Linked DNA regions of Homo sapiens: region 1 is linked to region 2. Evidence: promoter capture Hi-C in 16 types of primary human blood cells and fetal thymus (Javierre and others, 2016). All regions are on one chromosome and are shown on one strand. The core of a region is centred on a gene start or on the middle of the fragment in contact, and the rest is flanking DNA. Distances in the headings are between cores, read along the strand shown.

What was found. Contacts are between HindIII fragments. The CHiCAGO score rates a contact against its expected background, and 5 or more counts as called.
Region 1: a contact is called between a fragment that was not itself captured here and the fragment with the promoter of AKAP3 in region 2, in 2 of 17 cell types (activated CD4 T cells and non-activated CD4 T cells). The highest score is 8.6, in activated CD4 T cells.

The regions. Positions count from the first base shown.
Region 1 is chr12:3,073,085-3,078,728 of GRCh38, forward strand. TSPAN9 (tetraspanin 9) reads left to right here and starts at 4,295. Exons shown (of 9, transcript NM_006675.5): 1 at 4,295-4,369. RefSeq lists an enhancer at 359-653 and silencers at 435-584, 3,801-3,850, 3,901-4,400. The HindIII fragment of the contact is 2,312 bases long and covers 537-2,848 here.
Region 2 is chr12:4,647,801-4,653,312 of GRCh38, forward strand. It overlaps AKAP3 (A-kinase anchoring protein 3), which reads right to left and starts at 1,251. Exons shown (of 6, transcript NM_001278309.2): 1 at 945-1,251. It overlaps NDUFA9 (NADH:ubiquinone oxidoreductase subunit A9), which reads left to right and starts at 1,314. Exons shown (of 11, transcript NM_005002.5): 1 at 1,314-1,375. The coding sequence starts at 1,327. RefSeq lists enhancers at 676-725, 1,006-1,215, 1,084-1,739. The HindIII fragment of the contact is 2,310 bases long and covers 1-2,291 here.

The DNA of each region.
Region 1 (5,644 bases), core at 443-2,942, 1.6 Mb before region 2:
CCGAAGTGCTGGGATTATAGGCATAAGCCACTGCGCCTGGCCGAGAGTGGAACTCTTCATACATTCTACCTCTCACTCTACCCTCAGGTCATCTCCATGTCAGAGGGGTGGTGGAAGTCTCTTCAGGTGGAAGATTCCTCCGAAGTAACTTTGTGCATTACACTCTGGATGGAGCAGTAGTTAACTGTGCAGGCCCTCCAGCCAGACAACCTGGGGTTATATCCTAGCTTAGTCAATTGCTGGTGAAATGACCTTGGAGAAATTACTTAACCTGTCTCAGCCTCAGTTTCCTCATCTGTAAAAATGTCGGGATGGTGATGCTACTACCTACCTCATGGTGTTGTTGTGAGGATCAGTGGGTTAGAACATGTAAAGTACTTAGAACTGTGCCTGGCACATAAACAGTACATGTTAGCTGTTAGCTGCTTTGCAAGTCACTTGAAACCTATGGCCGAATGTGAAGTGTTGGCGGAACCCCGCTCCGGCAGCGTGCACTTTCGCCACTAGGTGTCGCAATTCAGCAGGCACAGTCCTGAAGCTTGACTTGGGGTGGTTGGCTGGGACTTTAATTTTAGCCTATTGTCATTTTTGATTTGATTTGGTGATTTCAAGGGGATAAACTGACATGCTATCCTTTGAAGTCCCTGGGGATCCAGAAATTCCAGCAGAGTTGCTGACATCCAGGCCTGGAAGGAGCTGTTTGGAGTCCTGCCTTTGTTCACAGTTAAAATGGCATATAATTTATCATCCACGCCAGGATATTTCGAGAGTGAAAGGGGACTTAGGAACTATGCCAGGACAAGAGGAGTAAGTAGGATGTGCCCCCGAAACCTGGATACAGTCACCCTACCTATATCTAACCTCAGCATTTTTCAGAATCTCCTCCAGAAGGGAAATGCAATGACATTTCCTCAGAAGCCTGGTATGATAAGCAGTGACTTCATGCGTTTGTAAGTCCCTTCCCCAAGAGGGTGGTGCGTCATTGTCAGGTTTACTTGCGTTTAGTCCTCAGTGGACACTATCAGTGTGTCTGCTTCACAGACCACTAGTCACCTTTGTGTCCTTTATGCTGAATAATCCCATCTCCTCTACAGCTTTTCTTCAGAGCTTCCTTCCAACTGTCAGCCCCTCAGAGGCACTGAGGCATTCACCTCTGAATGTGGTGAAGGAGAGTGAGCAGTGAAGCCATTTTCTGGGCTATTGCTGAGGGATTTCTTCTAAGATTTCATCTATCTCTAAGACTTCAGAATTCCATTATTTCAGATTTGCTCTAATTAATTAATTAATTTGAGACAGAGTCTCACTCTGTCACCCAGGCTGGAGAGCAGTGGTATAATCATGGTTCACTGCAGCCTTGACCTCCTGGGCTCAAGCAATCCTCTCACCTCAGCCTCCCGTACAGGCATGTGCCACCACGCCCATGCACACCTGGCTAATTTTTGTATTTTTAGTAGAGATGGGGTTTTGCCATGTTGGCCAGGCTGGTCTCGAACTCCTGGGCTTGAGTGATCCACCTGCCTTGGCCTCCCAAAGTGCTGGGATGACAGGTGTGAGCCACTGTGCTCCGCCTATCTTTTTTTAAAGGGCAGGAGGACTTTGGGAGGCCAAGGTGGGAGGATTGCTTGAGGCCAGGAGTTCAAAACTAGCTTGAGCAACATAGTGAGGCCTCTGTCTCTACAAAACAAAACGAAAACGAAAACAAAAACAAAAACAAAACAAACAAAAACCCCAATTAGCTGGGTATGGTGGCATGCACGTGTGGTCCCAGCTACTTAGGAGTCTGAGGTTGGAGGATCCTTGAGTCCAGGAGTTGGAGGCTGCAGTGAGCCATGATGGCACCACTGCCCTCCAGCCTGGGTGGCAGAACAAGTCCCTGTCTCAAAAACAACAAAACAAAACAAAAACCAAAAAGGGCAGGAGGAAGCTAGCATTTGTAGAGCAGTCACCACACATCACATGTTGTGCTTTTACTCCATCATCTTGGTCAGCCCATCAACCCTGTGGAATTGGTTTTTTTTTTTTTTTTTTTTTGAGACAGTCTCGCTCTGTCGACCAGGCTGGAGTGCAGTGGCACGATCTTGGCTCACTGCAACCTCCGTCTCCCAGGCTCAAGCAATTCTCCTGCCTCAGCCCTCCGAGTAGCTGGGATTACAGGCATGTGCCACCACACCCGGCTAATTTTTGTATTTTTAGTGGAGACGGGGTTTCACCATGTTGGCCAGGCTGGTCTCAAACTCCTGATCTCAGGTAATCCACCCGCCTCGGCCTCCCTAAGTACTGGGATTACAGGTGTGAGCCACCATGCCCATCCCCATAATTGGTATTCTTATGCCCCATTCCACAGGTGAGAAAACAGGCCTGAAGAGGTCCCAGCCGATAAAAGCAGAGCCAGGATTCAGACAGGTGTGTCTGGCTCCCAAGCCCTGCGGCTACTCCCTCACCAGGCTGCGTCCAATGGTCTGCCAGTGAGTTGGCTTGCTGGCAGACAATCCTAGTATATCTCTTTCCCTGTCTGAGACCCAGTTTCCTTTTCTGGGTACATGTACCCAACTCTGCCGCAGTGACTGGAGAGATTGGGGCTGGTGGGGGTTCCTTGGGAAGACTTTGTTATAGGGGCATTGAACAGGGCTTTGGATGAAGCAAAATGTAGAAGGAGAATATTTTCCTTGTGGGGAAAGGGAGATCAGAAGGAAATGGGTTATGGGTTTAGTCTAATAGACAAAAACAAGGTTGCATGTGTGTGACGGAAAGGGGCCCAGAAGATGAGTGGAAACTTCCAGTCTAATTAGCAGAAAGCAAAAGTGACCCTAGTGATTATAGCCAGGTTTTAAAAACTTGTCCCCAGTCAAGCTTAGTGCAATGGTAGGGCACGTGGGAAGCACAGCATACAGTTTCTTTAAAATTTAAAAAAATTTCACTTTTAAAGACAGGGTCTCCCTCTACTGCCCAGGCTGGAGTACAGTGGCATGATCCTAGTTTACTGCAGCCTCCAACGCCTGAGCCTCAGCCTCCGGAGCAGCTGGGACTACAGGGGTGTGCCACCACACCCGGTTAATTAAAACATTTTTTTTTTGAGATGGGGTTTCCCTATGTTGCCCAGGCTGTTCTTGAATTCCTGAGTTCCTGAGCTCAAGCAATCCTTCCACCTGGGCCCCCCAAAGTCCTGGGATTACACGCGTGAGCCACCACACCTGGCCTAGAAGACATTTTTGATGACAGTAATGATGAGAAGAGATGGCGTTTTAGTGCTCTTTGGAAACAAGTTTAGGCCTTCTAGCTTTAAGAATCCGGGCCTATAATCCCAGCACTTTGGGAGGCAGAGGCAGGAGGATGGCTTGAGCCCGGGAGTTTGAGACCAGCTTGGGCCCAGGGAGACCACCGTCTGTACAAAAAAAATCAAAAACTTCGCCGGACGTGGTGGTGCGCGCCTACAGTCCCAACTACTCTGGAGGCTGAGGCGGGATCACTTGAGCCCGGGAAGTCGAGGCTGCAGTGAGCCGTGATCGCACCACTGCACTCCTGCCTGGGCAACAGAGTGAGTCCTTGTCTCAAGAAAAAACAAAACAAAACAAAAAGCAAAAAACACATAAAATCCAGGCCTGAAAAAGCGCCCGGGCCAGACATGCCTAGCTGGAGTTTCTCCTGCCTTAGCGCACCCCTCAGGCACACGGTGCCCTGTAGTCGCCCTTGGAGGCCGCCAGCTCCTGGGGAGGCATGGCCCTTTCTGCGGGAGGTGTCTCAGGCAGGCTCCAACACACACCCGCGCTGTCAGCATCTCGCACAGTCCGCCCGAAACACCAGGGAAGGGGTTCGTAGGTGTGGGGGTGGGGTGGCGAGGCCAGGCAGCCTGGCGCGAGGGAGAGAGCCGAGGCCTGGGCCAGGAAGGCCCTTGGGTGCCGTGTGGGCGCAGAGCCCAGGAGAGCGCACTGCCAGGCCCGGACCTCCCCGCCCCTACCCCGGGAAGAGGCCCGTTCGCCGCAGGGGGAAGGCGGGATCATAGCACCTCGGAGGAGCGGCCGGTCCGGGCATGCGGGCGGCGGGGCGGGGAGGGAGGCTTCCGGAACCCCGAGAGAGCACCCGTGCCTCGCGGGCCCCGTGCCCCGTCCCCGGGCTCCCCTTCCTCTAACGCAGGGGACCCAGCCCGGGGCAGTGCCGGGCACTGGCGCTGGCGCCCCGCTCAGCCCTGCGATCCTTCTCCGCCCCGCCCCTCCCCGCTCCGCCCCGCCCCTCCCCGCTCCGCCCCCGGGCCGCCCCGCCCCGCAGGCTCGCCATTCCCGGGCAGGCCCCGCCCCCTGTTTCCGCTGGCGGCGGCGGCGGCGGCGGTGCCGGAGCGCGAGCAGAGCGGAGACCCCCAGGTCCTGCGGGCGCGGTGAGTGCGGCCCGGGCGGCGGGCGGCGAGGCGGGTCTCGAGAGCGTGCGGAGTCGCGCGGCCTTGAGCCGGCGCCGGGCGGGCTGGGCACCCCCAGGCCGAGACCCGAGAAGGGGGAGCGGCCGGGGGCGCCCACGGGAGGCAGTGTGGGCAGGGCGGCGGTGGGACGAGAGGACGAGGAACAGAGTAGGCGCCGTGCGGGAAGCGGGCCGGGAAGGGGAGGGTGGGTGCGGGGCCCGGGCACCGAGCGAAGTGGGGTCCTCCAGGGGATGGCTCCGAGGAAGACCGTTTCAGAAAGGGAGTAACCCGGGGCCGGCAAGGGTTTCCGACTGTGTGACCCCGTGCACCGCTTGGGACAGTCCATACAAGGACCCCAGAGAGGGCCAGGGGGCCTTCGGGCAGGGCTGGGATATGGCCTGCAGCCCCCCGGCACCCGCGACCGCTCCCTGGGCCACTGCTGGAAGATCAGCACTCCGAGTGACAGGACTCTGGCACATCCCGAAGTTGGAGATCTAGCCCATCTGTGCATTCAAGTTTGGGACTTCAAAAAACTTTCTTGTGGTTTTTAAAAAAAGATCCAAACAAGAAACCGGCTTGTTGTTGTAAGAGCAATATTTGTACTTGTACATCTTGGAACTGGAGTCTTGGATCTCCTCCCTCTTTGAAAAATATACGAGTCACTGCTTCATCTTCCCCCAAATGCCTGTTTTGTCTGGGGAAGCTTGGGCTAGTATGGGATCCCCTGAGCTACCTTTTTCTCGCATCACCAAAACGGGGGGTAAGAAGGCAGGGGCTTACCTGCCTTACCTGGTAACTCTTAGTTCAGAGACCCAGTCTCTCATTATGTGCGCGTGCCCTTCTGACCTGCAGCTGTCCTTTTCCCTGGGGTGACTCAGGTATTTCCTCCTCCAGGAAGCTTTCCTGGACTAGTGGAGAAAACTGAAGACTCATGCGAGGATCCCTATATATACCTGCCAGCTCCCTTCTCTTTACTGAAAATAGCCACAGAGAATGTTGAATATATGCTTTGCTATAGAGATACGCAGCCAGCTTGCCATCATAAGTAATGGGGAGGGGAGGAGAGGGATTATGGATAATTTCAAACAATAGCCTGGACAAATCATTTATATTTAGCTAAGGAATGCAGCCAGAGAGGCAGACAATTACACCGGCTTCCTACCCTCGGCTTGGTCCTGGCATGGCTGATGCAGCTGGGCTGTGGGTTGGAGGGAGAGGATTGGGGTAGATAAAACTTGAAGTGTAATTCAGTTCTAC
Region 2 (5,512 bases), core at 1-2,500:
AAGGTTTTTTTCTCTCTTCCAATTCAATTTGTTAGGCGACACTTCAGTAAACAGTAGGGGCAAGATAGAGTGGAAACAGCCAAGATTTCAAGCCTAGTAATAAGCAACTTCTACATCCCTACTCATCACAGGCCTTTTTGTCTATCCCAGAAACACATACTTTTCCTGAAAAAACAAAGCACTGGAAGGATTACCAAGTCTAGAAAGAACCCGCCCTCCCCAAACTAGGTGGTTTTCTGATAAGCCTAAGGTATGTTTCACAGGATCACTGGTTGCCATCTCCTACCCAGCAATCTGGAGAGGTTGACCAGAATAAAGTATTTTAAAATCCAAGCGCTTAGTCTAACCTGGAATTTCCTCAGTTTCTAGATGGCTCTTTGTAGAACAATGCAGATTCTCAAAGGTGACCACAGTTAAAGAAAAAATTACAAGCCATTGCGCTAGAGAGAGCCATCTGCAGTTTCTCCTTAGACAGATGTTCAGATGGCACACATGGCCACTAAATTTGCATAATATTTCAGGAAGTTCACAGATTTCCCGAAGCCCACTCATGAATCACACTTCTGGTTAAGAACTCCTAGATTCATATGCTAGTTGGTGATAAGTGCTTTGGTATATAAACTTAAACCAAAAATTGGTGGAATAATTACCACCTTGGATAGGATGGTCAGAGAAGTTTTATCCGAAGAGGTCACTTTTGAGCAGAGACTTGAGCTGGTGCAGACACCTGAGTGTGCATTCCAGGAAACGCGAACAGCAGGCGCAAGGGTCCCTATGAGAGAATGTGCTTGGCGGGCTCGACGCACATTTATTTACTTGGGACACACCCTATTTTGGTTTCTCTTCTCCACTTTTCCCCTCGTTCTTGTCCCCCCTTTTCTCTCTCCTGGGCCCTGGATCTCCTGAGCGCGGAGGGCTACGCCTCCTTCTTCCTCCGGACTCACCAGGGCTGCCAGCTTAGCTTACATTTTCAGGGAACAGGAAACTGAGAGTCAGGAAAGGTGAGCTCTTCTACCTCGGGTCTTGCCATTTTGCATGTCCTGAGTCAGTCACTGGTTAACTCTGAACTTCAGGTTCCTCGGCAATTAGAGATTATAAATAGCCTATACAGCCTATTCCAGATCTGAGATTCCAACAGCCAAAGTCTTTTCACTTCCTTTCTTCCCCCTCTCCTTCACTTTCCCAGCTTTCTTCTTAACCAACAATCTACCCGAAACCGTCGTTTCTTGGTTAGCGCTTGCGCAGACAGGCGAGAAAGGTAAGTTTTGACCCAGCTTAGCAGCCGTAGTCAGCCGGGAGTGCTGTCGTGGGGGATTGTGGGAAAAGATGGCGGCTGCCGCACAATCCCGGGTTGTCCGGGTCCTGTCAATGTCACGTAAGTGTTACCGGGAACGGCGGCCCCTGGTCGGGATTCCGAGACGGGGATTTAAGGTTTTGGAAGTGGCACCGTGCTGCAGCGGTCACGCCAACTTCCTAGGCACACTCTGGTTTCTCTAGGTTTGGAGCTGCCTCAGTCTGGTTTCTCCTTTCGCTTTCCGCTTCCCCGGCTCACATATTCAATTGTGCACCACCTTGGGAGGGGACAAAAGATCTTAAGCAGCTGTAAGCGAAGAGGAGAATGCGGGGGACACGTTAGGGATCGAGAGAATCAGAATTCTGATATGGTTGTAAGGGTTTAGGGTTATGAGAAATATTTGTATGGGGCGGGGGGAGAAATGTGTAAGGGAGGGAAAAAAGGCTAGTGGCGAGAGGTTTTCTTAGATTGATTTTATGACCTTGTGCAAACCCTTAATGGGTCTCAATTCATATGAGCACAATGGAAATGATAATATTACAATACCAGGGAGTCTCTGATAAGATTAAATGAGCTAATATTTGTAAAAGCATCCTTTTACCCAAAAGCGTCTCTACGGATGTAGAATGTGTTCGGCAAAGTGCGTTGGGGTCTGGGGGAGAGAGTGATGTTTGAGGAGAGAAGAATCAGGAGCTTGGTGGAAAGGAAAGTGAAGAATGAAGGCTATGTTAGAATTTGTTAGCATTATTTAGTTTCTCTTCTGTTCTGATTGGATCTGCTCCCACTCCTCAAACTGAAAACATACATTTGTCCTTCCACTCACTAAAAAGCAAGGAAATTAGAAATACGGTTACACTTCATCATTGTCCTTTCACCCTCTACTCTTCCACAAACATATTCCAATCAAACCCCCAAAGTTGTATTTTTCTTAGTGTATTTTAGTCGTTACAGAATATCATTTGCTTTCAAAATTGGCTCATGTCAGAATCACTCGTAAAGCTTTATAAAAATTAGAAATGAGGACTGAGTGTAGAGCTATTGAGTCAGAATTTGTGAGATTAGCTCCTTGCACCTTAAATTTTTAAAAGCACCACAGATAGGCTTGATGTTCAGCCTGAGGCAAGAATTAGGAGTGTTTAGAGGATCCTTTTTTTTTTGTTTTCCATCTTGGGTAGAACTCCTGCATACCACTGGGAAGGTGGTGGTGCACATCACTTATAGTGGATGGTTTTGTAGTCACAATGTCTTTGCAAAGACATTTGCTGGTTCTTGTTAAACTATTACAATTGTATGACGTAATGTAGATTGTGAATGGTAATCACTATTTATTGAGTACCTGCTATCTGCAATCTCCAGTTCTAGGTATTTTTATTAATTTTCCTCTTTTAACTTACTTTCCTCTGACTGACACCATAGCTTGTGTTCTTAACCACTCTGCGTTATTGTCTGGTAAAGTAAGTTTTTGAGTAAATTCTGTAGAGGCAAGTCTAGTATGTAACATAATCCACACACTATAGGACAGAACTGTGTAAGACAACTATATATAGTTAAGTGTGGCAAGACTATTAAGTATCACAGGAAATCATAAAAGGGAAAGATTAGTATCATTTGAGGTACTGAGGGATGATTGGAAGACCAGTGGAGAATTGTAGTGCTCCCACTGGTCTCTTTAGGGCTGTTATGATCTGGAAAGTCCTCTGGCAAAGACAAGTGGGTGAGAATGGAGTCATGAGGTATTCAAGAGGCAGTGAAATGACTACCTGAATATCTGGGATAGTGGAAAAGGAGGTTGAATGTGTTAGATGGGATCAGACAATGGAGACCTTTGAAAGCCAAGCAGAGTTTAGATCGGTAGTCTCCAAAGGGAGTTGTGCAAGAGGACCTAATAAGTTGTGGAAATATAAATTAGAACTCCTAAAAATTGCTTTCTATAGTAATAATAGCTAACACTTATGTAGTTTAAACTGTATGCCACACACTATTCTAAGTAATGTATGATTTATAATGTGTATATCATATTGGTACTACATAGAACGTGCATATAATTTTTTAAATAAATACTTAAAAAAATTAATGCAGTGTGCAAGCAAATATGTCTGGACTATTGGTTTGGGTATTGCAGTAGGAAACTAATGTAGGTTTTTAAGCAGAGAAATATAATGAATATATAATTAATAAAGAATATCATTCTTCTAATAGTACTCATAATAAATGGAAGAAAGTGGAGAGGCTGGAACCAAAGAGAGTAATAATTTATATTTATTGAGCACCTAGTATTTGCAAGGCACTGTGACAGATGCTTGCCCATATGTTATTCTCATTAACCCTTTAAACTGTGAGCTTCATGAAGCCAGGGTTTTGTATTTTACTGTGATAGTCACAGTTTCTAGAATAATTCTTGGCCCATAATTATTAAAAAAAAACAATAGCCATGTGAGGTTAGTGTGACATTACCTTCTGAGAAATTTCAAAGTAATAAAAGCAACTATTATTCATAGAATGCTTAATGTGCTCTAGGTAATGTGCTACGTGGTTTATGTATGTTTAATCCTCTTAACAGTCCTTTGAGGTATTAATTCCTCAACTCAAGTAATTCTTCCCAGTTCATTGACTCTGCCATCTTTTGCCTGTCTTATCCTATGTCCTCATTTCCTTACTCTTCACTCTTATCATTCCCTTTTATGCATCCTCAACTCCCCAGCCCAACTCCCATTGTCGTAAAAAACATTGACCCTGATTAAACAAAACTTTCCACGTAATTTGCTGCCTGCCACTGAGCAATGGAGAACGGGGCTAGGGAAAACTTCAGACTAACTGGCCTTATTTTAAATTCATGAATACAAATCTCAAGTAGATTTTCAGTGCTACATTTTTCTAGGAAATTTGGTTTCCTTGTCTCCATAATCATTACTTAACATAGCGAGTTTCCTAAAACCTCTAACATGTGCTTTTGTCTCATTCTCAGCTTTACAGAGAAATCAAAGGAATCAGATGAGAACAGTCATTTTCCCACCATAAACTCTAATAGTTGATATGTGATAATTCTTTGCCTTTTCTCTTGTTACAGTGGGTGAGCTCCTTCTGTTCCAATCTGTGGCCAGTTCCTTCACTTTGCATTCAATCTTATCCTCTCTCAACTATTCATTCCCTTTCCTGAATCAGTAATTTTCTACCTCTACCATGGAAATCATGTCATTTCCATCAGCACATAAATGTTAACTCATATTTAAAACAAACAAACAAACCTATTCCTGTCCTTGTTTTCTCTAGTTCCATTTCTCCTTTTTCAGAAGGATTGTGTATACTCCTCATCTACTTCCTTGCCTCACAGCCTCTCTTGTTTGCTCCAGTCTGGCTTTCAGTCCCACTAATCCAATAAAATTGCTCTTATTTATGCCACCTACAGCCACATCCTCCAGCTTCTGTGGTCCTCTGTCCTCTTCCTACTTCACTTTCAGCATTTGGTAAAGTTAACCATTCTCTCCTTGAAACAGTTTCTTATTTTGGGTTTTTAGATTCTGTTTCCTTCTGAGTTTTTCTCCTACCTCATGGGACTGCTTTTTAATCTCCTTTACTAGTGCTTTGGGCTAGTCACTAACCTTATCCATAAAGTGGTGATAAAGATAGCATTAAAAAAGATAATACCTATGCAGCACTTAGAATAATGCTGGACACCTGCCAAGAGCTCTGTAAAGGTAGCTGTTAATATGATGTTATTATTTTGTTATTATGATGTGTGGTCCATGATGTTTACTTTTAATTTCTGTCACTATCAGTGAGCTAGGCTATTTCTCCAATTCAATACTTTTGGATAGGGAAGAACAATGACCTTTGGGCAGAATGCCACCTGAAAGTCATCCCTAGAAACAAACACAGATTTTCTAAAGAAAGTCCTGTTTGTGTCTTTCACCTCTCCCAAGTGTACAAAGCACGAATGCTAAGCTCCGAAGTTTGTTGATTGGAGCAGAAGTGCGTTAGCACTTTAAACCTTTTTGTTTCTACTTACATGAAAGTTGAGCAGCTAACTCTAAAATTCTATTCTAAGGAGTTAGCAATAACTTGAAAACTGGAATGTATCCAAAAGAGATTCTCATTCCTGCCATATGAAGAATATTTGACAGGACAGGGAATGTTTAACCTGGAGAAGAAAATATTTAGTGGGGCTATAATTGCTACACTTAATTGTAGAAGAGGGATTAGACTTGTTCTTTGTCATTC